Regions from separate parts of the Homo sapiens genome. Here all the other regions are linked to region 3. The links are contacts of gene promoters, found by promoter capture Hi-C in blood cells and fetal thymus (Javierre and others, 2016). All regions are on one chromosome and are shown on one strand. Each heading gives the region's core, a stretch centred on a gene start or on the middle of the fragment in contact. The rest is flanking DNA. Distances are from core to core; before and after follow the strand shown.

Region 1 (3,915 bases), core at 811-3,310, 150 kb before region 3:
TGTCTTAACCTCTTGAAGTCCTGGCTTCCTTTTCTGAAAAATGGGGGCCGATAACAGCAACACCTCACGGGCTCATTGTGAGAGTTGATGAAATGATGCGTGTAAAGCATCTGGTGCACAGAAAGTGCTCAATAAATGTATACTCTGATTAAGGCAAGAACGAGGCCTAGTCTACGATGAGAGTCCCCTGGGGTCCCCTTCGGGTCAACCCTTCTGGATGGGGAAAATAAACAACTTCCTCCACTCAAAAATCAAGTTCACAAAAATTAAAAAAATTAAATCATTAAATAATTTAAAACAAATCAAGTTCAGCTGAAAGCCATACTTCAAGGCCACATGGTAGTTCCTTTGCTGTGCTTGCAATTGTCCCTAGGCCTGAAATTAATTTTTAAAAATTGCGTTCCTTTTTTTTTTGAGACAGGGTCTTACTCTGTTGCCCAGGCAGGAGTGCACTGGTGCAATCATAGCTCACTGCAGCCTCAACCTCCTGGGCTCAAGTGATCCTCCCTTCTCAGCCTCCCAAGTAGTTGGGGCTACAGGTGCACACCACCATACCCAGCTAATTTTTAAATGTTTTGAAGAGATGGGATGACACTTTGTTGCTGAGACTGGTCTTGAATTCCTGAGCTCAAGTGATCCTCCTGCCTTGGCCCCCAAAATTGCTGGGATTACAGGTATGAGCCACCATACCCGGCCTCTAAAAACTGATTTCCTTCACAGCAGAGCAGAATACAGTGCTCTTTCCTACTCAAACGCGTTACTCAGAAGAGCATCTCAGAAACTCCAGGCCTGTTGGCACTGAGAAGAGGGGGCGTGCTTGGCCAGGGAAGCCCCAGGAACTGCCCCTTTGATCTTCCTGATCAGCCCTCGCCTCCTACCTGTCACAGCACTTCCGCAGCTGTTCCCAAATCAGCAAAACCAGCTCTGTCTTCACCTGCTGCAGGTAGGGGCCCATGGACCCTGACGTGTCCAGCAATATGCATACTTTGCTCTCCAAAACGGTGCCAAACAGTCGGCGGCTCCCTGCTCCGAGACAGGTGGGGAAGAGGCAGGGAGGGAGTGAGGGGTCCCTCCTCCTGGGTGGTTTCCCTCACTCTATCTATCAAGTATAAAGTCTTGTGACACCTGTTGCCTGCCTGATCATTGATTGGATGTCACCCCACTGAGAGACGGCTTTTGTGGTGCTGTGGGAGGGGTCGATTGTCCAAGGACAGACCTGGTCAGTGGTTTGGGCTTTGGGAGATCGAGATTTCAGCTCTGGCTTTGTCTGTGATGAGTTGCACAAGCGGTTATAACCTCCTGGGCTTGAATTTCCTTATCCTTAAAGTTAAGTGATTGGATTAAATAGTACCATGACATTGTTTTAAAATATTAGATGGTGTTTGGGTGTGTACTGGTATGTGAGCTGGGGGATTCATACTACAAAAGAAATCGCTGGATCTCTGGTTTTATGTCACCGTTCCCAGGGGTAATGTGAACCGAGGGTGGAGAGAGGCTCACGCCTTCTCTGTCCCAGCTCAGCCTCTGACCTGACAACTGTACCTGAAGCAGCAGTCATCATGACGCCCCTGTCCATGGACTGTCTATACCAGGTCCTACTGCAGAGGACTGGACCTAATGAATTTACACAGGACCCTGAGTGGCACGTACAAAGCCACCTGTAGGATCTCTATATAGGACTCCCTTCCTCCCTCCTCCTGATGCCCCAGAAACCCTCCAGGCCCCATAGCCCGAATCCCCTCCTGTCCAGTTCTAGCTGTCTGCCTGTCTTCTTGGGCTTGATGCTTCCAGACCGTCTCTTAATCCACAGCCCAACCCTGTCCATTCACCTCTCCTGGAGGGGACTTGGTGCTCTCTGTAAAGAGGTACACAGTAGCTCACACCTATAACCCCAGGACTTTGGGAGGCTGAGGCAGGAGGATAGCTTGAGCCTAGGAGTTCGGGGCCAGCCTGTGCAACATAGAAAGACTCTGTATCTAAAAAAAATAAATAAAGTAAGCTGGGCATGGTGGCACGTGCCTGTAGTCTCAGGTCCTTGCAAGGTTGAGGTGGGAGGATTGCTTGTGCCCAGTTCAAGGCTGCAGTAAGCCATGACTGCACCACTGGACTCCAGACTAGGTGACAGAGAAAGACCCTGTTTCTAAAACAAAACAAAACAGAGGGTTTCTGCTCTGTCAGTTCCCCTTACCATCTGCATCTCCAGGGGCTGTTTTGCTGGGGCGCAGTCAATATTAAAGCAAACCTTTTGACAGTGAGCCCCTTGTCACTTGCAGGAAGGCAAGGTGTGGCAGGTGGCCTTGCAGAGCAGGCTGGGATGCGTGTGAGCTCCCGCTGGGGCTCTTTGGCCCATGTTCCACCTCCCTGTTATCCAGCCCCTTGCCTGTCCTCTGAACCCACTGTCATTTTTTTTTTTTTTGGATAGAGTTTCACTCTTGTTGCCCAGGATGGAGTGCAGTGGCGCGATCTCAGCTCACTGCAACCTCTGCGATTTTCCTGCCTCAGCCTCCTGAGTAGCTGGGATTACAGGTGCCCGCCACCATGCCTGGCTAATTTTTTGTATTTTTAGTAGAGACGGGTTTCATCATGTTGGCCAGGCTGGTTTCGAACTACTGACTGGTGATCCACCCACCTTGGCCTCCCAAAGTGCAGAGATTACAGGCATGAGCCACCACGCCCGGCCTCCCAGTGTCATGTTGTATGTGGATGATGTTCCTGGCCTAATCCTCTGATCTGCAGTTCTTGAAGGCCTGGCTTTGGAAGGACTGACACTGGGGTCCCTGGGGCTAGCCTTCTACATCCCCTCATGCTCCTCCACCCTTCAGGGCAGTGGGCAGGCTCACCGGACAGCAGCCACTGCAGCCTCTGGACATAGCGCCTTAACACCTTCTCCAAGTGCCTGATGTACACCTCCATCTCCCTGGGCGTCCACTGGATGTGTCTCACCACTCCCTGGGTTAAGGCAAGCAGAGGCAAGCACCCACCCCATCAGTCATTTCTTCATATCCCCATCACCCCCTAAAATTGTTTATTCCATTGTGGTTAACAATTCTCAAAATATTTGTTGGCTGGGCACGGTGGCTCATGCCTGTAATCCCAGCGCTTTGGGAGGCCGAGGCAGGAGGATCGCTTGAGCCCAAGAGATCAAGACCAGCCTGGGTAACATAGGGAGACCTCATCTCTACCAAAAACAGAAAATTTAGCTGGTGTGGTGGCATGTGTCTGTGGTCCCAGCTGCTTGGGGGAGGCTGAGGTGGGAGGATTGCCTGAGCCCAGGGAGGTAGAGGCTGCAGTGAGCTGTGATTGCACCACTGCACTCCTGCCTGGATGACAGAGCAAGATCCTGTCTCAACAAACAAACAAAAACCCACAAAAAACAACCATCTGTTAAGTGTATTTTTTTTTTTTGTTTAAAGCCTTTTTTTCTTCTATTAAACTAGTGGATTTATGGTTCTACAAAGGAGTAGGGAATTAAGATTTTTTTTTTGGTAAATGCAGTTGCTATATTAATAAAAATCATAATAATTTCTGATTTTTTTTTTTTTTTGAGACAGAGTCTCAGTCGGTTGCCCAGGCTGTGTAGTGCAGTGGTGCGATCTCGGCTCACTTCAGCCTCTGCCTCCCGGGTTCAAGCGATTTTCCTGCCTCAGCCTCCTGAGTAGCTGGGATTACAGGTGCACAGCACCATGCCTGGCTAATTTTTGTATTTACAGTAGAGACGGGGTTTCACTGTGTTGGCCAGGGTGGTCTCGAACTCCTGACCTCAGGTGATCCGCCCGCCTTGGCCTCCCAAAGTTCTGGGACTACAGGCATGAGCCACTGCGTCTGGCCAATAATCTCTAAATTTTAAAATAGAAAACTCTAAATGGTGGGGTAAGAAGTTCATAAATTTTGAACTGAAAGATGACTTCAGGTGGA
Region 2 (4,295 bases), core at 1,067-3,566, 190 kb before region 3:
ATCAGAAACCGGACAGGCCGGAGGGAGGAAAAAAGGGGCAGGGCCAGGGCCTGGAGGGAGGGTCATGGACGTAGGAAAGATTCAGGGGGCGGGACAGAGGCGTGACCAGGACTCAGAAGGCGTGCCCAAACATGGAAGGGCGGGAAGGGGCGTGGCTATGACATGAAGGCGGGGTTAGGCCTGGAGAGCGGCTCAGGACTAGGCTCTGAAGTCAGGGGGCGGGGAAGAGGCGTGCCCAAGCCGTGAAGCAGGGGCGGGGTTATAAAACGGGGGCGGGGCTAGGTCTGGAGGTCTGCTCAGGGGCTAGGCCAGGAAATCAGTGAGCGGGGAAGAAGGCGTGCCCAATTTGAAGGGCGGGTCAAGGGCGTGGTCAAAACATGGAAAGAGACTCGGGGCTACGCGTCTGGGCCGACCAGGGACGTGGCCAGGATTCAGGGGGCGGAGCAGGAGCGTGCCCACTTCGGAGGGCGGGGCGGGACAGGACAGGGGCGGGGCCAAAACACAGGAAGGGCGCAAGGCAAGGTCTGGGAGTAGATAGGGGCGTGGCCAGAAGTCGGCGGTCCGGGCTAGGTCTGGAGAGCGGCTCGGGGGCGTGACCAGGATTCAAGGGGCGGAGCGGAGGCGCGCTCAAACCCAGAAGGCGGGGCAGGGGCTGGTACAAGCCCAGGGAGCCGGGCGTGGGCGAGGGTGCAGCGGGGCCGACCCTAGCGGGCGGCGGACGGCGGACGGTCACAGGCGCTCCACGGCGGCGTGCAGAGGCTGCAGGCCTAGGAAGTGCAGGGCCAGGGCGAGCAAGCCGAGGAACAGCAGCAGCCTGAGCAGCAGGCGCAGGAGGGTCCGCGCCGTGGAGCCGCGGGGCCGCCGGGTCGTGGACTGCACGTATAGCTCCACGGCGTCGGCGAACCTAAACTTATCCGGCGCGTAGCCGAGCTGGGCGCGGGCCTTGGCTATCTGGAAGGTGTGCGTCACGGCCACGCTGCGCACCTGCGGGGACAGGCGGGGCATCCGAGGGCGGGCCTCGTGGGAGGAGGACATCCTCTACTTCGTTGTTTACGGAAAGGGAAAAGAGAGGGCAGGGATTTCCCCTCCATTACATAGTGATTTAAAAGGACCCGAGTGCAGCGTCTTGCTCCTGCGATGCCCTCATTAGAGAGGTCTTCCTTTCTTCCTTACATGTTCATTTTTATTGGAGGGTGCCGCCTTTGCGTCGCCCCCTCCAGCCCCGCTGAATTCGCACCCTATTTAACTCCTTGGTCCCTAAGAAGCAAAGGTCTCACCCCTACACTCATCTTCCCGGCCTAGCACGGTGCTGGGACTCAGGAGGCCCTTGATACATTCTTAGGCATCCGCTAGGAGAAGGTGAACGCCTGCCAGAAACATCTGCAGGAAACGACCTTGGCTTCCTGCCCCCAACCCCAGACCAACTGTGACCAGGAGGGCCCCAGTCGCAGCCTTCATGCCCTCGCTTATTAACTAAGCTTCCCTAAGAGAGGAATTCGATTATGCAGAACTGATTGCTCTCCAGGGTCTAAGCTGTGTTTCCCCTGCTGCCAGATGGCTTGGGGCCCACTGGTTTGAAGGGTAGTAATGATAGCTATCAGCAGTTAAGGAACACACACCCTGCATTTGGCCTGGACTAAATCCTTTCTATGCCCTACCTCATTTAATCCTCTCAGGTGGTACTAGCACTATCTGTTCTGTGCATACTTGGAAAAAGGTCAGAGAGGTTGAGTGACTTGCCTGGGGTCGCACAGGGGAGCCAGGTTCTAGCCTAATTTCTTCTCTGCTGTGCTGGCACCTGGAGATGTTCTCCCACCTGACTCATTTCTTCCTCTCTTTTTCCTCAGCCGGACCCTGGGGAAGAATCCACCAGCTGCTGGATTCTCCCATGGCATTGAAACAGCCCCTGGGGTCAAACCTGTGGTCTTGGATGCTTAATGGGGGGTGAGGAGAGAGGCCAGTATTTGTCCCTTTTTTTCCTAGTCAGTAAGTGCAGGGCTTTGGGGAGCACAGGAGTTGAGTTACGCTAGATAAGCAGGGTCCCTAATACACCTAGATGTCTCTAGATGTCACCTCTGGGAAGCTTTCTCTGACTTCCTCAGAGTTGGCTGAGGCGCCCCTTCTGTGTGCACTGGAGTTTCTCGCGATTTTCCCAAGAATGGCTCTAATTACAGTGTTGAGTTGCCTGGTTAGTGGGCTGTCTTCCCCTTTGAACTAGGAGCTCCCTAAGGGCAAGGACTATGTCTTCTTGCCTCCGTTGCTCAGCACAGTGCCTGGTAACATTTATGTTAAATGCATAAAAGGCTATAAAGTCAAACTGGAGGGCTGGTTGATGTGTCACAGATTGACCAGCAGAGGGTACCCGAGCCACAGCCAAGGAACTTCCACAGTTAAGGACATTGCCCCTGAGCTGAACAAGGAAATCCCCAAGTTAAACAAGAGGGAGAGGAGCCAAGTCCCTGCCTGACCACAATTCAGCTGCACCCTGGCAGCTATTTTATGTGGATGTGATTCCTGATGCATTTTCACAAGCTAATGGTTAAGCTTGAAATCACTGAGGTCTGGGTTCAAATCCCAGCTCTACCATTTAAGTGAGTGATCACGGGCAGGTTATTTCACTGTGTGTCTCATTTCCTCCTCTCTAAATGGAGAGGACAATGTTGTCTACAACTCAGTTAAATGAGATAAAGCACAGTGCCTGGCATACTGTCACAACTCAAGAGATTGTCAGTATCATCTTATTCTCTCCTCCACTGATCCGGATGGCTCAAAGGAGAAGCCATAGGTGACTACTTCTTTCTGTGGCCCATTCTCCACTCTCCCCCTCTGACTCCCCTTGTTAAAGAGCACTGAACATGGAGTCTGAAGCCAATTCCAGTATGGTGTGGCCTTGGACAAATAATTTTCCTAGTGCTCAATTTTTCATCATAAAATGGAGATCACGATTTTTTTTTGACCTTTTTAACTTAGCAGGGCATCAGAGACAATAAAACGAGAGTGGACTGGAAGTAATTTTTTTTTTTTTTTTAGATGGAGTCTTGTGCTGTCACCCAGGCTGGAGTACAATGGTGTGGTCTCAGCACACTGCAACCTCCACCTTCCAGGTTCAAGCGACTCTTCTGCCTCAGCATCCCGAGTAGCTGGGACTACAGGTATGTGCCACCACACCCAGCTAATTTTTGTATTTTTAGTAGAGACAGGATTTCACTGCGTTGGCCAGGCTGGTCTCAAACTCCTGACCTCAGGTTATCCACCCGCCTCAGCCTCCCAAAGTGCTGGGAACAAGTGTGAGCCACCGTGCCCGACTGGACTGGAAGGATTTTTGCAAATAACCTCAAATACCACCGATTACTTTGCTATTTACAATCTGTGATGAAAACATCCTCTCTTTTAACTAAGCAAATATAAACCTGCATCATCATTATTATGAGAATAGTATTCTGAGCCAGGCATGGTGGTGCATGCCTGTAATCTCAGCTATTTAGAAGGCTGAGGGGGGAGAATCTTTTTTTTTTTTTTTGGTTTTTAGGGGCAGGATCTCCATCTGTTGCCTAGGCTGGAGTACAGTGGTGCAATCTGCAGCCTTGAACTCCTGGGCTCAAGTAATCCCCCACCTGAGCTGGGACTAAAGGCATGCACCACCTTGCCTGGCTAATTTTAAAATTTTTTGTAGAGATGAGGTCTTGCTATGTTGCCCAGGCTGGTCTCAAACTCCTGGCCTCAAGTGATCCTCCTGTCTCAGCCTCCCAAAGCACTGGGATTATAGGTGCGAGCCACCACACCTGGCCAAGAGGATCTCTTGAGCTCAGGAGTTTGAAACCAGCCTGGACAATATAGTGAGACCCTGTCTCATAAAAATAATTATATTCTGTATGTAGTAGGTACTTAATATATACTCATTATTCAGTAAGCATGAACTATGAGCCTAGGACCACCAGGCTGTTGTGTGTGTGTATGTATGTGTTGAGAGTTGGTGGGATTGGTAGCATTCAAAGAAGTGAATGGCCTGAAACTTGCCTTTGGGAACCTCCAGTCTGGCTGGAAAGACAAGATGCTTATGAATGAAGAAACAGTGATGATGGATAGGCTTGGAGCTGTCACATTTCAGACCCAGAAAGCACAGCCTCAGCAAAAGCCCAGAGGTTGGGGTGATCATAACAGAGCTAGCACCAGCTTTGGGCCCACATGGAAAGTTCTGAGACTTCAGACAAGCATGTGTCATCATGGTGTCAAAGGGGTAAGGAGTGGCAGCAGTGGGGATGGTGGGGAGAGGTAGGAAGGGAGGGATGGGGAGC
Region 3 (3,952 bases), core at 1,291-3,790:
TCTGTACTAAAAATACAAAAATTAGCTGGGCATGGTGGTGGGTGCCTGTAATCCCAGCTACTCAGGAGGCTGAGGCACGAGAATTGCTTGAACCTGGGCAGTGGAGGTTGCAGTAAGCCGAGATCACTCCACTGCACTCCATCCTAGGCAACAGAGTGAGACTCTCTCTGAAAAAAAAAAAAAAAAAAAAGGAATGAAGCAGGACAGGGCAGAGGGAAAAGTAAGGCTGCAGTGGACCACGTGGGGAGTTCTGAACCTGGGATGGCCCTGCATTGACCAGTCACCAGATGCTAGTTAATCTAGGAAGGTGAGATCTTGGGCAAGGCGTTCTTTCCAGCCAGTAGTAGTAGTGAGGGTGGGAAGTGTAAGTCTTTCAGCCCTGAAGGGGGATCTGGGCAGCACAGCACCCAGGACAGTTTGTATCCTGCAGTTCCACCAATCAGTGTGACCTTGGCTTACTTGGCTTGGTGGAGTGTAGAGACCTCCGCTTTAAAGACACTTTTTAGCCTGGGGTGGAGGGAAGACTAAGGGGAGGCCAGGCACTGATATGCTCCATCACAGAACCATATATGCTGATGGGCTCTATTCCCACAAACTCTTACCCTTCCCCTGCTGGTAGGAAGATGGAGGAAAAAGATGTATTTTATGATAGAATTAAGTTGGTATCTATGTAGACCCCTGCCAGACTGTTTGGAAGAGGAAAGGTGACCTGTCACAAGAAGTCACCCACAGGAGACTTGAGGTGGAGAATAGCCCTTTGTACTGGTCTCTACGACACAGGTTTTATCTAATGAGAAATCTGTCCTGGCGCTCACGCCTGTAATCCCAGCACTTTGGGAGGCCAAGGCGGGTGGATCACCCTGAGCTCAGGAGTTGGAGACCAGTCTGGCCAACATGGCAAAACCCTGTCTCTACTAAAAATACAAAAATTAGCTGGGCGTGGTGACACAGGCTTGTGGTCCCAGCTACTCTGGTGGCTGAGGTGGAAGGATCGCTTGGGCCTGGAAGGCGGAGGTTGCAGTGAGCTGAGATTTTGTCACTGCACTCCAGCCTGGGTGACAGAATGAGACCCCATCTCAAAAAAAAAAAAAAAAAAAAGGAACCTAAAGAGGAATCTGCCCTGGCTTATTGTCTGTGTAGAGCCACAGAAACAACAGAATAAGCTTGGACATAACCAGATCTACCATGGAAATCTTTGCACAGTGCCTGACACCTAATAGGTGGTTAATGACTGTTTGTTGAAGGGATGGGGCAAGGTGCTTAGCCTCTCAGTTTCATCAGACCGGGGATAACACCAGGGCCTACCTCATTAGGTTTTCTCTTTCTTCTAGAATTTACTAACTCATTTATTCATTTTTATTTTTTGAGACAGGATCTTGCTCCATCACCCAGGCTGGAAGGTGGTGACTCAATCATAGCTCACTGCAGCCTTGAATCCTGGGCTCAAGTGATCCTCCCATCTCAGCCTCCTGAGTAGCTAGGACTACAGATGTGCACCACCATGCCCAGCTAATTTTTAAATTTTTTTTATAGAGAAAGGGTCTCACTATGTTGCCCAGGCTGATCTCAAACTCCTGGGCTCAAGCAGTCCTCCTGCCTCAGTCTCCTGAGTACCTAGGATTACAGGTGTTAGACACCACACCTGGCCTAGAATTTATTTTTAATAATTTATATTTTCCTAAAATTGTCCACTTCATCTGTTTTTTAAGTACAGGTTTCAAGAGGATAGAGCCTGTGTTTCTGTGTTTGTCTTGCTTACTGTTGTGTCCCCAGTATCAGTAAATGACAGAACAGCTCCCTGTAAATACTTGTTGTATGAGTGAATGTGTGTGGGAGGAAGAATTATCTTGGAAAAAAGAAGGAAGCATTAATAGTGCCTCTCCTAATAGTGACTCATTTTTTTTTAGGCCACCCTGGGGCCTTTTCTTATTCAAAACATTCATGAAAAAAAGTGCAGTTCCAAAGCATTGGAGCTACTGATGTAACAATTTTTTTAAAATACCATTATTAGAAGTGCAGCGGGGGATTCTCTGATCTTCTAGGTATTCTGTGATCTCCTGTGATCTTCTGGCTGTGATCTTCCTCTGCAGACCACCTCACATCTTTGAGACACCCTCCTCTGTGCCTTCTCCCCCTCCCTATTTCTTAGGTTCACCAAGAATGAATGAAGAAGCCAAGCGCGGTGGCTCATGCCTGTAATCCCAGCACTTTGGGAGGCTGAGGCGGGCAGATCGCTTGAGCCCATAGTGCAACAGTTGTGTTGAGCCTGAGCAACATAGTGAGACCCCCACCCCCTGCCCGTCTCTTAAAAAAAGAAAAAGAAAAGAAGGAATGAAGAAACCACCGTGGGTCAGGCACGGTGCTAACCTCTGCAGAAGTTTCCATACAGTACAATGGTGTGCAATGCCCACGCCACGTTTTGCAGGGTCCACGGGAAGCCTTGCGGCGACCTCACTGCCGCCCAATTTCTGGGCAGTGGCGGCGCAGCGCCCCCTGGCGGCCATCCCGAGGGCAGTGCCCGCGGGCAAGGTTCGAAACTGTTGGCATTGGGACTGACTCCAGCCTCTGCTCCGGGAGGCCCTCCCGGGCTGCCTGACCTCCCGGGACCATGCAGAAGGCCTCCCACAAAAACAAAAAAGGTAACTGGGGAGAAGGAAGCGGGTGAAGAAGCCCTGGGGACCAAGCCTTCGTCAATGTTCCTCCTCTGTAAAATGGCAACGGTGCACTCTTGGCCTGGGAGATAACCTCTCTCCATCGTTGTTGTTATCATCATCATCATTATCATCATCATCATCATCATCATCATCATCATCATCATCATCATCATCATTTGAGAAGGAGTCTTGCTTTGTCCCCCAGGCTGGAGTGCAGTGGCGCGATCTCAGCTCACTGCAACCTCTGCCTCCCAGGCTCAAGTGATTCCTCTGCCTTAGCCTCCCGAGTAGCTGGGATTACAGGTGCCTGCCACCATGCCCAGCTAATTTTTTATTTTTAGTAGAGATGGGATTTCACCATGTTGGCCAGGCTGGTCTCAAACTCCTGACCTCAAGTGATCCGCCCGCCTTGGCCATCGTTATTTTTATCAAGGTATAATTTCCATGCAGTAAGATCCCCCCTTTTAAAAGTACAGCTACCGTTTTGACAAGCTATACCCACGTTGAACCACCCCCTCCATCAAGATAGGGAACAGTTCCACCACTCCCTAAAATTACTTTGCAATGCCCAGTTGCAGCCAAACCCCACCCCACTGCAGCTCCTCACACCCCCATCTGTTTTTTACAGCGTTTTTTTTTTTTTGCCTTTTCCATGGAGAACATCATAAAAATGAAATCACATAGTAAGGAGCCTTTAAAAAATTATACCAATGTAAATAGGGACTTTGGCCCTTTCATTTTTATTAAAAGGGCACATAAATCTTAAAATAGCATATGGGTCACTGTATTTTATTTTTAGAGACAGAGTCTTGTTCTGTCGCTCAGGCTGGAGTGCAGTGGTATGCTCCTGGCTCACTGCAGCCTCCAATTCTTGGGCTCAAGCAATCCTCCTGCATCAGCCTCCCATAGCTGGGACTGTAGGCATGCACCACCACATTCAGCTAATTTTTTTTTTTTTTTTGAGACAGAGTCTTGCTCTGTGACCCAGGCTAGAGTGCAGCGGCATGATCTTGGCTTACTGCAACCCCCGCCTTCCAGGCGGGTTCAAGCGATTCTTGCCCCTCAGCCTCCAGAGTAGCTTGGATTACAGGCGTGAACCACCACGCCTGGCTGATTTTTGTGTTTTCAGTAGCAACGGTGTTTCACCATGCTGGCCAGGCTGGTCTCGAACTCCTGACCCCAAGTGATCCGCCCACCCTCGGCCTCCCAAAGTGCTGGGATTACAGGTGTGAGCCACCATGCCCAGCCTAAATAGAAGAGATGAGGTGTCACTATGTTGCCCAGGCTCTAATCACTTT

Evidence for each region. Contacts are between HindIII fragments. The CHiCAGO score rates a contact against its expected background, and 5 or more counts as called.
Region 1: a fragment that was not itself captured here is called in contact with the fragment with the promoter of PDZD9 in region 3 in 1 of 17 cell types (M0 macrophages); the score reaches 5.1 in M0 macrophages.
Region 2: a fragment that was not itself captured here is called in contact with the fragment with the promoter of PDZD9 in region 3 in 17 of 17 cell types (naive CD8 T cells, total CD4 T cells, megakaryocytes and 14 more); the score reaches 64.6 in naive CD8 T cells.

Annotation. Positions count from the first base shown.
Region 1 is chr16:22,145,270-22,149,184 of GRCh38, reverse strand. It overlaps VWA3A (von Willebrand factor A domain containing 3A), which reads right to left. Exons shown (of 34, transcript NM_173615.5): 27 at 2,841-2,949; 28 at 879-1,023. Among named protein-coding and RNA genes, the nearest start is that of SDR42E2, 15 kb to the left of the region's middle. The HindIII fragment of the contact is 7,143 bases long and covers 1-3,915 here.
Region 2 is chr16:22,186,828-22,191,122 of GRCh38, reverse strand. SDR42E2 (short chain dehydrogenase/reductase family 42E, member 2) reads right to left here. Exons shown (of 13, transcript NM_001394319.2): 13 at 1-984. The coding sequence ends at 730. LOC124903666 (a long non-coding RNA gene) reads left to right here and starts at 3,111. Exons shown (of 2, transcript XR_007065028.1): 1 at 3,111-3,152. RefSeq lists enhancers at 1-56, 312-811 and silencers at 517-616, 757-806, 897-986. The HindIII fragment of the contact is 461 bases long and covers 2,086-2,546 here.
Region 3 is chr16:21,999,704-22,003,655 of GRCh38, reverse strand. PDZD9 (PDZ domain containing 9) reads left to right here and starts at 2,540. Exons shown (of 4, transcript NM_001363519.1): 1 at 2,540-2,639. The coding sequence starts at 2,609. RefSeq lists an enhancer at 2,345-2,394. The HindIII fragment of the contact is 4,622 bases long and covers 1,166-3,952 here.